Linked DNA regions of Homo sapiens: regions 1, 2 and 4 are each linked to region 3. Evidence: promoter capture Hi-C in human tissues and cell types (Jung and others, 2019). All regions are on one chromosome and are shown on one strand. Each heading gives the region's core, a stretch centred on a gene start or on the middle of the fragment in contact. The rest is flanking DNA. Distances are from core to core; before and after follow the strand shown. Region 1 overlaps HPS4 (HPS4 biogenesis of lysosomal organelles complex 3 subunit 2). Region 2 has its middle 8.4 kb from the start of ASPHD2. Region 3 holds the start of CRYBB1 (crystallin beta B1). Region 4 overlaps ASPHD2 (aspartate beta-hydroxylase domain containing 2).

Region 1 (3,448 bases), core at 560-3,059, 160 kb after region 3:
CACCAGGGGGCAGCATAGAGCCGCTGATAGTCCATTACTCAGACCCCAAGATAATCTCCTTGACCTTCAAACACAGTGATCAGATTAATTATTTATCACTACAATAGGACATGGAGCTTCTGTGTACAGTACATGAGGCTTGAAGTTAGTGTGAGAGTGTTGCCATAAAACATTTTATGAAAAAACACCTTCCCCCAACTGGGAAACCGGTATCTCTAAGTGAATGTGTGTTCCATGCATTGCTCCTGCTGCACGCTGTGTCACACACTGACATTTGTGCCACTTGCTTTCGTGTGCACTAGAAGTCAGAGGACCCGGGAATTAGCCTCAGCTCTGTGTTGCCTAGGGCTGTTGTGAGGATCACATTATGTAGCAGTATATATCGGTGGCTGGCAAACATTTTATGTAAAGGACCAGAAAGCAAATATTTTCAGCTTTGCACAGCTTTTCAGCTCTGCTGTTGCAGTACAAAAACAGCCATAGACAGTATATAAATGGTATGACTGTATTCCAGTAATTATTTATGGACATGGAATTGGAACTTCATATAATTTGCACATGTTACAATATTATTCTTTTGACTTTTTTCCCCAACCAAGTAAAAAAATATAAAAACCATTCTTAGGTCTCAGACTGTACAAAGATAGGCAACAGGCTGGATTTAGTTTATAGGCTAGAGTTTGCTGACCCCTGGTATGTATGAAAGCACTTGGTTATCAGTAAAAATTATCCACATGTCATCTGACATAGCATCTTGTGATTAACTGTGTTTTTATGGTTAAGTGATCCTATCTTGAGTGCAAGTTAGGCAGAAGATTTTGGAAGCAAAGCTCCGTGCCTGTGGGGAAACAGTTTTTGGCATGGCTCACTCTCTGTTCTTATTGTTTCTTCCTCTGGACACCAGCTCAGCATGGAAGGGATGACTGTTAGCACGTTCTTGAGGTCCAAAAACTTTCAGTGAGGCTGTGGTTTGACTTCATCAGGTGAATGCTTATGTGTGCCCGTGTGCGTGTCGGCACATGCACACACACACATCTGTTCAAATAAGAGGCTCAGTGTTAAACGCAGTGTTGGTCAGGCTCTCTCAGTGATCTGAACATGAGATATTATGATTGTCTTTCCTGAGCACATATCTTTTTACATAGCTCTGCAACCTTGGTTTAAACCAAATAGCTCATAAATTGGCAGTGCTTGGCATTGGATGTGTTCATTTATTCATTCATTTAGTGGATTCATTTATTGAGCACCTACTAGGAGTCAGACACTCTACTAAGCATTGAGGATACAAAACTGAGCGCATAGAAAATAACTTTGTATGTCACACCTATTGACTTGAAATATCATTTCTGAGACTTTCATACAGGAAAACTGATTTAACACCAATATACTCCCAAAATAACATGTAAGCTTCATGACATTTACTTCAGAAGCATTCTGTTTGCATCTCTGTACTTTTTATATGCACTTATTTTTCTTACATAGCTGTTGAAAAATAGTCCACAAATTATCTGTGATCTCTAAAGAGACACCATTTCTTTTATATGATTATTTTCATTTCCTTGACTTTATAAAAAGACTCTGCCTCAGGATAGCACTTTAGAGTTTACAAAGGACTTTTGGATGTGTCATTTCATTTAAGTCACTCAATAGTCCCGTACTGTTCCCATTTTGCAGTTGACTAGAAAAATGAGGCACAGAAAACTTGGTAACTTGCTCCTGGTCATTTGACTAAAAAGAGGCTGAACTTGGGATGTTTTTTACCTGGGAACTGCAAATGTTTGGGGACAGTGACCTTCTTTCTTGTGGCTGAAGCAGGCCCAGGAAACCCCATTTCAGACCAAGCCTATTATGACAGGCCTGGCCTACTGAGTCAAGCCCTCAGTGGAGCTTGAGGAACACTGCACAGCCATTAAAGAATTATATGATAGAATATTTAAAGACGAGAAAAGCAGTTCATGCTGTGTTGTTAGGTTAAAAAACTATCAGTCATTATTTATGATTTGATCTCATTTTTATTTTACAGAAAAAGAGTTACACAAAACAGTTTAGTCCAGTCTTTTCAATTGTACTTAAACTTTATCTCCTTGGAGGTTTGTAAAAATACAGGTACTTGAACCCATCTCCTTGACAGTCGTCCTCAACTGTATTCCTCTTCTGAACCATCAAGTGCAGAAAGCTGTTTGACTGACACTCAGTCCTTCCAAGAAAGCCAGGACCGTGCTAGGTGTAGCAGAGAGAAGTTACCGTGTTACATCCAGTGAGGGACTTCTGTACCCAGGGCCAGTGAGAAACAATGCGGGATGGTCCCAGGCTGTTTGTATTGTGAAATCATGCAGCCTGGGTAGGAAAGCCATGGTTAAAATAAGATACACCACAGTGGTGACAGTGGCTATTACTGGATGGTGAAATGATGGGTTGTTTTCTTGTTATTTTTTTGCTCATCTCTTTTCTAAATCTCCTACAATATAATCATTATTTTTAAAAACATTAGAACATAAGGGTGAAAGAAAAATGTTGGTGAGAGTCCATTTTGCTGGATCAAGTAGGCAGTAAGATACTCCATGAATGATTTTTTTTTTTTTTTTTCGAGACAGAGTCTCACTCTATCACCCAGGCTGGAGTGTGGTGGTGCGGTCTCGGCTCACTGCAGCCTTAAACTCCTGGCTTAAGTGATCCTCCTGCCTCGGTCTCACAAAGCACTGGGATTACAGGTGTGAGCCACCGTGCCTGGCTGGAGGATTTTTTTTTTAACTAAGTCTGTGGTTAACTAGCCCTCAGAAGGCTTGCTGAGGTCAGCCCTACAAGCCCATGACCCTCTCCCCCTTTGCAGTACCACAGCAGCCTGGCTTCACTGAATGGGCTGGAAGTCCACCTGAAAGAGACGCTGCCCAGGGATGAGGCAGCCTCCACGAGCAGCACCTACAACTTCACACATTACGACCGCATTCAGAGCTTGCTGATGGGTAAGAACCAGCCAAGGGGCCTGGGGCGACGGGGATGCCAGATTCTAGATGGGTGGAGATGAGAACTTGAGCCCCAGCATCATGATGACACGGCTGTGCACAGAGTTGTCTGACCTGCGTTCAGGGCTCTCTTCTCACCGGGAGCCCAGTCCCACTGAGTGTGGCGTTCACTGGGCAGACGCTTCTCTGCTCATGTGTCTGTTTTTGGCGTTTCCCAGTGTTTTGAGAGAAGTTCATGTTCACATATCTGTGATAGGGTTTGTCTCAGAATGTTGAGATCCACACGCAGAAACCGGGTGCTGCATCGCACAGCGGCGGCAGCCGAAGCCCAATGCCCCGGGCCTTTGTCTCTGCCCCGGGCAGCCAACTCATGGCCTTGAGCCGTGCTCAGTCCCCGTGTTCAGTACTGGGCTTCATGGGGTGGGAGGGCAGAAGGTAACTGTCTGCTCTTCACAACTCTGTGTCCTCTTCTGGAAGCAAACCTG
Region 2 (3,384 bases), core at 858-3,357, 200 kb after region 3:
AAAAGCCTTGCCAATCCATTTATCCTCTCCAGATGTTTTCATTAGAAAAGTAAAAATGCTGACTGGGCACAATGGCTCATGCCTGTAATCTCAGCACTTTGGGAGGCTGAGGTGGGTGGATCACGAGGTCAAGAGATCGAGACTATCCTGGCCAACATGGTGAAACCCTGTCTGTACTAAAAATACAAAAATTAGCTGGGCATGGTGGTGCACACCTATAGTCCCAGCTACTCGGGAGGCTGAGGCAGGAGAATCACTTGAACCCGGAAGGCAGAGGTTGCAGTGAGCCAAGATCATGCCACTGCACTGCAGGTGGTGACAGAGCAAGACTCTGTCTCAAAAAATAAAAAATAAAAAAAAAGAAAAGGAAAAAGAAAAGTAAAAATGCTGAAGAAGCCCAAGTATGAATTGGAAAAACTACTCATGGAGCTTCATGGTGAAGGAAGTAGTTCTGGAAAAGCCACTGGGGACAAGATAGGTGCTAAAGATGAGCAAGCTGATGGATATGAACCACCAGTCCAAGAATCTGTTTAAAGTTCGGACTTATAATCAGTGGGAAATAAAAAGTCCTATTTGTGAAAAAAGAAGAATTTGACAAAATTCAACACCCATTCATGATTAACAACTCTCAGCAAACTAGGAATGGAAGGGAAATGTCAACCTGATAAAAAGAACTATGATATACATTATGACAAAGTTTCTGAAAGTGTAGTAAGACAATTGTTTTGTGAAACTTTGTTTTACTTTGTGTTTGTGTGTGTGTGTGTGTGTGTGTGTGTGTGTTGCACTGGGTCCTAGAGAAGTTTTCAGAGTAGATACATGCACAAGAATGTTCGTTGCAACATTTCGTGAAAAATTTGAGGCAGCATTGATAAAAAGGAAAATGCACACACAAATTCATACAACAGGCCAGGCACGGTGGCTCACGCCTGTAATCCCAGCACTTTGGGAGGCCGAAGTGGGCGGATCATCTGAGGTCAGGAGTTCGAGACCAGCCTGACCAACATGGAGAAACCCCATCTCTACTAAAAATACAAAATTAGCTGGGCATGGTGGCACATGCCTGTAATCCCAACTACTCAGGAGGCTGAGGCAGGAGAATTGCTTGAACCTGGAGGCGGAGGTTGCGGTGAGCCGAGATCATGTCATTGCACAAGCCTGGGCAACAAGAGTGAAACTCCATCTCAAAAAAAAAAAAATTCATACAACACAATATGATGTAGTAGTTAAAGTGCATGGGCCAGAGCTAAATGCATCAAGGTGGATAAATCTCCAAAACACAATGTTGAGCTAGAAGAGCAAATTGCAGATTGATGTTTGCAACATTATTATTTTTTGTAAGTGTTTGATAGGGTCTTGCTCCGTTGCCTAGGCTGGAGTGCAGTGGCATGATCTTGGCTTATTGCAGCCTCAACCTTCTGGGCTCACCTCAGCCTCCTGAGTAGCTGGAACTATAGGCACATGCTACCATGCCTGGCTAATTTTTTGATCTTTTGTAGAGATGGGATTTTGCTATGTTGCTCAGGCTGGCCTTAAGCTCCTAGGCTCAAGACATCCTCCTGTCTCTGCCTCCAAAAGTGTTGGGATTATAGGCATGAGCCACTGCATATATACATATTCTCACTAGGGGAAACTATATATTAATATGTATTTATAGGAAAAATCTTTCATGGGGATGATCAATACGAGTTCAGTGTAGTGGTTATTTCTGAGGAGGAAGGAAGGAGGAAAGGAGAATGAGATTTGGGAGGAGCACATAAAGGGGCTTCAACAATATTTGTAATATTTTACTCCTTTAAAAATAACCAAAACAAAATGTTAAGATTTGATAAAGTTGAGTGATGGGTACATAAACATTTGTTCTATTTTTCTTTAGGAATGTTGGAAATATTATGAGATTATAAATTATAAGAAGGCAATTTGACACGGTAAAATTAACCCTTTGTTTTTGAAAGTTTGAGTTGTGAGTTTCCAACACAGCTTGAGCTATTTGGAGATTTGCAAGTGCAGCTGTTTCAAGTGTGTTTCCAGAGGTTCCTGGTAGTCCCCGCACGTCGGCAACAAGAGACAGGGGCAGAGGAAATGCCCAGGTTTCCCAGTTCTTCCCTCTGATCTGCTTGACCTTTCTCAGCTTTATATATTGGCCTCTGTATTTGGAAGCTATTATAAAAGACCCCAGGACTAAAATAACTTTGTAAACCACTGCCCCAAATAAAAGTTGGGAAGCTTTGCTCTGGGAAATATGAAGTTAAACCTGAGTCACAAATTCTAGGAAATAAGTTTGCCTAGAATATTATTTCCCTAGAATAAATGAAAGGGAATAGCCCTCCAAATGGGTTTATCACATTGGATGATTTAATTTGGTTGGTTGACACATACACATGAGTAATTCTATCTGTCCAGAAAGCAGAGCCACACACATGTGTTATAAGATGATGAATGCGTTCCCAGAACAAATCGAAATCACCTTGAGCTGATCCAATAAAGTGCTGCTAACATCTATTTAGCATTTGAACAGACGATGAACTTCCTGCTTACGTGCAAGTAGGTAGAGCTAGACACGAGCCTGCTGTTTGTGAAGCCTGGGGAAAAGCTTGCTTTTATACACTGGGGAAAGTGAATTAGTTAGAACCTCTTCCCAAAGCCATCCACCTGTTTCCACCACTGCTTTCCACTGGGTCACCCTGCACTTGTTCCACCTTGTGACCTTTATCCGGATGTCTCCAGTCATTCCATGTTCTCTAGGAGCTTTGCAATAGCTTTGGCTGGGCATGGAAACTAGGTGTGAGAGCCTGTATGTCTCCCAGATGGAAAAATAGAAATGAGAAGCGTGGCCAGGTTCCAATAAGAGATTTGAGAGAAGCAGCCCTCTATAAAATCTGGAATAGAATTCAACACCTAAGTGAACTAGATCTTGTTTTGACAACAGGCATCATTTCCCACCTCCATGAGCCTTTCTTGGTGGTAACAGACTATGACCAGTAATAGGTTTCCATTTCTGCACCCAGTTGGGGGTGATATTAAAATTACTTAATAATCTGTACACCATGGTGCCAACCATCAGAACGGATGCTGGCTGTAAAAAACAGACATGGCCATGTCATTACTTACTGATTCATACACCAGCCCCAGTCTGAGTGATACAGAAATGTAATCTTCAAGAAATTTCTGATGGGTTGTGTCTGAGTCCAGGAGCAGCTATACCTTAAAGCTTCCAGCTATAATGGAGAAGCTTCTTCCTGTTCTGAATCTACTTTTAAAAAATGTTCCCAACAGAGGGGAGGTGAACTACCTGTCAGCTACTTCTAAATGCTGAGAAGTCAACTGGGAAGGCTATTCATTTATTCAACATATAATTATTGAGCATATACTATGCTAAGCCCA
Region 3 (3,255 bases), core at 575-3,074:
GACAGCCCATTCCTGGGGCTTTAGGGGGGGCACGGAACTGCCCCAGATGACCTGGCTTTGAAGCCTAGACTGGTGGGTGGGCCCTCACCACAGGCGTCTTGGCCCCAGTTCCAGTGGCTACCCCATCTTGCAGTTCCTGCCCACACCCCACCCACCAAGTCTTGGCCCAGGATGAAAGGCCAAGGAGAGGCTAGGAAGCGAGGGGGTGCTGGGTGGTGGAGGGACAGAGGCAAAGCTGGCTCCAGGCCAGGGAGAGTTCAAGACAGAGCTGGGCTCCACGGGGAGCCTAGAACCCCGAAAAAGAAGAGACAGGAGCCTATCCAGATGCCCCCGCAATATACCCTGCCTGGGACTGGGGAGCCGACTGCAGGTGACCTAGCTGAGCAGCTCCCCAGGCTCCTTCTGACCCCAGCTGTACTGTGAGTTCCCGCCATGTGACTATGTTGAAGTCATTTGTTCCACCTGGGCCTCGGTTTCTCCATTTGTGAAATGGGAGGATTGGGCCCTGTGATTTCTGGCGTCTGTTCCTCCGTCCTGAGGCTTGATCACCCCAACTTGACCTCTGTCTCTCCGTCTCTCGCTCCTTCACTGTCCATGTCCCCTGTGCCTCTCTGTGTCTCTGTCTCCACCTCTCTCTTTGTCTGTTACTTCTATCTGCCTCCTTACTTCTCTCTCCTTGCCTTGGTTTCCCTATCTCCTCCGTACCCTACCTTCTGTTCCGATCCATTGGAACCACCATTGAGTCACCAGTTATTGACTGAGAACCCATGATGTGCCAAGCTCTACCTAGCCAGGCCCAGCTAGGTGCTGGGGCCAGTGGTGAACAAGATGTGGTGGGCATCTGGGGCTTGCCAGGGCAGGAGGCTCTGGGACAGGCAGTCATATTTCTGGCCACCAGCACTGTCCTCCAGGTCAGATAACGTGGCCTGGGTAGAGGCGGGGAACTGGGGTGGCGAGAGGGATCACTGTCGATAGGTCAGGAAAGGATGGGGCCCAATGTGGGGAAAAGAAAAAGACCCAGGTCTCCGATATCCAACCCAGCTGAGCACAGTGCGACTCTCCCATTCCCACCCCAACCTACAAAGAGGAAGTCAGGCCAGGGGGCCTCAGGCCAAGGTCAAGGCTGGACAGCAGGAGAAGAAAGCACACAGGCCCAGAGCTGGCTGGCCTGGGCTGGCTCTGACCTCTCTGTGCCTTCACTTTCCTCTTCTGTGAAATGGGCATAATGAAAGTACCAAATAAGGCAGATTGTCCCGGGGACTGACCGAGATAACACGGGTTCGGCACACAGTAAGCACTCCGTAAAAAAGGCTGTCCATATCAAACCCACATCTGCCTTTACAAAACGCTTCTGTGCTCATTGTCACCTTCTTTTCTATATGGCATCCAACAGGGACACGTGCCCACCTTATAATTGCAGACACAGAGGCCCCCCTAGGGGTAGAGACCTACCAAAAGCCACACAGCGCGCAGTGGCTGAGTCAGGATTCAAACTCTGGTCTCCTGCCTCCCAGGGTCTCCCCTTTTCCCTGCCCCATGTTGGCAGCCAGCAGGGACCCTTTTGGGGGCCCATCCCTGGCTGGGGTTGTTGAGAAAGGAGTCAGGGTAGGGTTGGAAGGTGAAGCTGCTGTGGCCAGGGTTTCTGCTGTGTGTGCTGGTCTCACAAAGGAAAGTGCTGCTGTCTGCAGTGATCCAGGCGAGGTCAGGGCCCCAGTCCCCCACTCCCTGCCCAGGCCTGCTGAGCCAGCTTCCCCTTTGTGCCACAGACTATAGGGCCTGATGTCTGCCAGACTATAAAATGGGGGGTCGGACTCTAGTCACCCATAGCACCTGCCCGCCTGCCTGTCCTCCAGCAGGAAGTAGCAAGTCCCCAGGTAAGAGGGAACCCACAGCCCAGCTGAGAGCTGAAGGGGAGGGGAAGAGAAAAGGGAGACAGAGAGAGGGAGGCAGAGATAGCAGTGCCATGAGAGTCAGAGAGCAGGGCCATGGAGATAAAGACGGAAGTGGAGAGAGGAAGAAAGGGAGGGAGAGGGAGAGGGGAGAGAGTGAGAAAAGACAGAAATAGAGAGAGAAGTAAATATAATTAAAAAGGACAGATAGAGAGATAAGCAAAGATACAATGAGGGAGAGATAGTGGGGGAGAGAGGAACAGAGAGGGAGAGAAACAGACAGGCAGATAGGCAGAAAGAGGGAGAGAAGTAAGAAACAGATAGAGAGGCAAAGACAGGGAAGAGAGGAGGAACAGAGGGAGAGGGTGAAGCAGGGAGAGAGAGAGAATGAGAATATCTCCAGGAAGGCATGAGTCCAGCTGCCAGCCCTGGGGGAGTGTTTAAAGCCACAGATGTGGTCCAGATGTCTGGCCTCACCCCTGGTGAACAGGGGGCACCCCAGAATATGCACAGCCTTCCTGGAGGAGGCTGGGGGAGGGATGTGCTTATCCCAACTAGCTCCGCCTTACAGAATGTGTTCGGGAATCAGCTTGACCAGAGGGTCTTAATCTGTGCTAGCAGGGGGTCCTCAAATCCCTTAACATTGTCTCCAAAGTTAAAGAGAGCATTATTTTTGTCCGGGGACAAAGTTGAGGTATTCATCAAACATTCAAAGGAGTCCACGACCCCAAAGCAACAAGGAACCACTGGAATTGACCAAAGCCCTCTCCACCCAAAGCCTACCCAGCCCCAGTCCTCATTTTCAGAACCCTCCACATGCAGTAAATACATCCTCTTGGGTCCTCCCATAAGCCTCAGTCCCCGGCCTGTATTTGCACCCATACACCAACCCCTCAGAGGAAGCAGACGGGGAAAGGAGCTGGGAGCATGCATTCATTCATTCTCTGAACAAATGTTAATTGGGCATCTCCTATGTGCCAGGTGCAGAGCAAGTGTTAGGGATGGACGGTGAATAAATCAGATTAAGCAAATGGCAGAATACTTTAAAAGCCCAGTTGCTGGCTCCATTTCCTTGAGTTGAAATCAGAGCCCTACCACTTAGTAGCTGTTTGGGCCTGAGCTGGGCCCCTTCCTTCTCCAGCCCCCTGCTGCTCAGAGGGGATCATGATAGCAGCTACTCCATCGGGTGAGGTTCATGGTCAGATGGGTTAATTAATGTATGTCACAGTGCCTGGCACACCTTAAGTACTCCCAAATGGGACTTCTTGTTATTAGTCTAGGGAGGCAAATTGGAGTTGCACAAGCAAATCAGTGTGATAAGCAGTGTGGAAAATTGCAGGGGGCTAAGGAAGGACCTAGCGGGGTA
Region 4 (3,469 bases), core at 160-2,659, 180 kb after region 3:
TTCATTCCTTCATTGGCTTCATCTATTCTGGGTCATGGATTCCTTTTATGAAAGTCACAGACTGACATTTGCACTACACTCTGAAGCCTAACCAGGGGACCCCCAGAAATCCAGGGAGGTTGGGTTTAGAACCTTGCCTTACCCAGTAACTGTGTTTACTGTAGTCTCCCCTCTAGGACTATCTCAGTTGCGATTAAAAAATCAAAGGCTCACACAGTGTTCTCCTCCTTGGGTTCTAGCCTTTTAATCCGTTTTGAGGCTGGAGAATGGCGTGCTCTTCGTCTGCCCTCATTCTGGGAAACTGGAGGACACTTCTAAGGTAATGGCTTAGGTTCAAGAGGAAATAGACTGGCAGCTTTGTAAGAAGCCGTATGCTTGGCTGGGCACAGTGGCTCACACCTGTAATCCCAGCACTTTGGGAGGCTGAGGGGTGGGCAGATCGCGTGAGGCCAAGAGTTCGAGACCAGCCTGGTCTCAAACATGGTGAAACCCTCTCTCTACTAATTATCCAAAATGAGCCAGGCATGGTGGCAGACGCCTGTAATCCCAGCTACTCGGGAGGCTGAGGCATGAGAATTGCTTGAACCCAGGAGGCGAAGGTTGCAGTGAGCCGAGATTGCATCACCGCACTCCAGCCTGGGCGAATCGCACCACTGCACTCCAGCCTGGGCAACAGAGTGAGACTCTGTCTCAAAAATAAAAATAAAAAATAAAAAATAAGCCGTATGCTTCAACCGGCCAGTGGGGTCCGGTTGGAACACTGCCATGTGTGACCCTCAGTCGCCCTTTCCAACACAAGGGTCTGCAGAAACACTTGGCCCCCATCACTACCTTGATGTCCAGAAAAGAAGGGGCCACCGTGGCCATCTAATGATTTCAGAAGGGGTTGGGTCAGCCCAACAGCTCTCAGGAAGGCCCACCCAGGGGGAAGCAGAGTCCTGGAAGAGGAGCTGGGATGGGTGGTGGTCTCATCTGTCTTCAGTGACTCACTGTGACCACAATGACCCTGGGCCAGTTGGCATTCCCCTCTGATTTAATGTCCTTTAGCATAAAAATGAAATAGCTTTCCTTCCAGCAGCCAGAGTATTTTAATGTATTCTTTGAACCAGAAATAATGGTTCCAGGAAGTACGTTCACAGTAATAATTCAAATAAAGAGGCCACATGGAGGAGACAGAAGGACGGAGGACTTGGGGACAGACGACTGGTTGTGACTCTTATGTGCTGTGTGACTTTGGGCAAGTCACTCAGCCTCTCTGAGCCATACCCTCACCTGTAAAGAGGGGACATTAGCATACTGAACCTTCCAGGGCTGCTATGGGACTTCTATCCTTGTTACCAATAACTGAAGACCTACTGTGTCTTCCTACTCAGCTTTGTGCTAAATACACACTTAACAGGTATCACTTCACCCACTTTCCAGATGGGGTAACTAAGAAGTTAAATGACCTGCTAAAAAGTTACCATTTAGTGTTGCTGAGTCAGCCTGACTCCAAAGAACAGGCTGTTATAAAACTGGACATGATGATATAAATGCTAGTTGTTATACTATTAACAGAGGAATTAAAGTGATTGTGGAGTTTTCGATTTTTCTTTATTTATTATTATTTTTTTTGAGACAGAATCGTGCTCTGTCGCCCAGGCTGGAGTGCAGTGCCATGATCTCAGCTCACTGCAGCCTCTGCCTCTTGGGTTCAAGCAATTCTCCTGCCTCAGCCTCCCGAGTAGCTGGGATTACAAGTGTGCACTACCGTGCCCAGCTAATTTTTGTATTTTTAGTAGAGATGGGGCTTCACCATGTTGGCCAGGCTGGTCTCGAACTTCTAGCCTCAAGAGATCCACCTGACTCGGCCTCCCAAAGTGCTGGGATTACAGGCTTGAGCCACTGTGCCTGGCCTGATTGCTGATTTTCTTGTAGTTAACATGTCTGATAGTTAATACTGAGTTTCAACTTGATTAGATTGAGGGATACAAAGTATTAATCCTGGGTGTGTCTATGTGGGTGTTGCCAAAAGAGATTAACATCTGAGTCAGTGGGCTGGGGAAGGCAGATCCACCCTTAATCTGGCAGGCACAATCTAATCAGCTTCCAGCAAATATAAAGCAGGCAGAAAAACATAAAAAAGTGAGACTGGCCTAGCCTCCCAGCCTGTATCTTTCTCCAGTGCTCGAAGCTTCCTGCCCTCAAACATCGGACTCCAGGTTCTTCAGCTTTGGAAACTGACTGGCTTTCCTTGCTCCTCAGTTTGCAGACAGCCTATTGTGGGACCTTGTGATCATGTGGGTTAATACTTAATAAACTCCCCTTTATATATATATGTGTGTGTGTGTGTGTATGTATGTATGTGTATATATATATATGTATGTGTATATATATATGTATATATATGTGTGTATATATATATGTATATATGTGTGTATATATATGTATGTATATATATGTATGTGTATATATGTATGTGTATATATGTATGTGTATATATGTATGTATATATATGTATGTATATATATGTATGTGTGTATCTATATATATGTATATATATGTGTGTGTGTATATATATGTATATATATGTATGTGTGTATATATCTGTGTGTATATATATATCCTATTAGTTCTGTCCCTCTAAGAGGACCCTAATATGTTTCAACTCTCAATAGTACATTTCATTAAATCAGCTGAGACTGCTCATCCTGACAGAAGCCATGATTTCCCACTATGGTTAACAGCAGCTGGGGGAGTCAGGGCTGTAAAGACGCCCAGATGGAGGGACTCAGAGGCTACGTTTTCCTTTGGCGTGTGCCCCTACTGGCTGGTTCAGGTGGCGAAGGCCTTTAGGAATGGGCAGTTCTCTGCAGGGACAGCCACCCCGGGGTTTCAGAAAGAAGCTCCCCTTTCTCTGGGCCACTAAATGATTCATCGCCACGTGCCACGGTGCGATAGAAAAATGGCCTGGCCTGCTGGCTTGACACCCCCCTGCTTCTTGTTCTCCGCCTCCCCTTCATTCTGCTCCTGCCCCCATTCCTGCCTGTTGCCCACAAACCAGCTTAGTTGGCAGAAGAGCTCAATTCTTCCCTAAACAGATCATTCCAGTGGCTCTTGAGGACAGTGACAGGTCCCACACATGGCCTCAGATAGTCCCATATGCTCCTCTATGGCTCAAGCTTTGCTGCTCTGTCCCTACCGAGCCCTGAAAGAGGCAGGAAGGAGGGTAGAGAAAGGGCTGTGTCCACCAGTGGCCCCCACTTCAGGCGGCTGGCAACCGGGCACTCAGGGTGGGCAAGGGGAACATGAGCTGATCTACTGTTACCACCCGGCTAGACCACCTAGAAATCTGATGACATGCAGAAAAGAAAAACAAGAGTCTAACTGTGCTTCTTTAGCTAGAATTTGCTGAACATATTCATGCATTTTCATGAAGTATCTGCCTCCCTGGTAACATCTGCCTGGTGAGTTTCAGAGGTGGTTTTCT

Evidence for each region. Contacts are between HindIII fragments. The study calls those that stand out against the background at their distance.
Region 1: a fragment that was not itself captured here is called in contact with the fragment with the promoter of CRYBB1 in region 3 in 1 of the 25 tissues and cell types used here (small bowel).
Region 2: a contact is called between a fragment that was not itself captured here and the fragment with the promoter of CRYBB1 in region 3, in 1 of the 25 tissues and cell types used here (spleen).
Region 4: a contact is called between a fragment that was not itself captured here and the fragment with the promoter of CRYBB1 in region 3, in 1 of the 25 tissues and cell types used here (dorsolateral prefrontal cortex).

What each region holds. Positions count from the first base shown.
Region 1 is chr22:26,457,960-26,461,407 of GRCh38, reverse strand. HPS4 (HPS4 biogenesis of lysosomal organelles complex 3 subunit 2) reads left to right here. Exons shown (of 14, transcript NM_022081.6): 12 at 2,831-2,963; 13 at 3,441-3,448. Among named protein-coding and RNA genes, the nearest start is that of HPS4, 24 kb to the left of the region's middle. The HindIII fragment of the contact is 4,986 bases long and covers 1-3,448 here.
Region 2 is chr22:26,419,218-26,422,601 of GRCh38, reverse strand. It overlaps the pseudogene RPS3AP55. Among named protein-coding and RNA genes, the nearest start is that of ASPHD2, 8.4 kb to the left of the region's middle. The HindIII fragment of the contact is 3,088 bases long and covers 564-3,384 here.
Region 3 is chr22:26,616,596-26,619,850 of GRCh38, reverse strand. It overlaps CRYBB1 (crystallin beta B1), which reads left to right and starts at 1,824. Exons shown (of 6, transcript NM_001887.4): 1 at 1,824-1,874. It also overlaps a transcript of CRYBA4 not described here. RefSeq lists enhancers at 739-1,414, 2,093-2,770. The HindIII fragment of the contact is 18,434 bases long and covers 1-3,255 here.
Region 4 is chr22:26,437,544-26,441,012 of GRCh38, reverse strand. The region is part of intron 2 of ASPHD2 (aspartate beta-hydroxylase domain containing 2); the gene reads right to left. Among named protein-coding and RNA genes, the nearest start is that of ASPHD2, 10 kb to the right of the region's middle. RefSeq lists a silencer at 310-466. The HindIII fragment of the contact is 6,333 bases long and covers 1-3,469 here.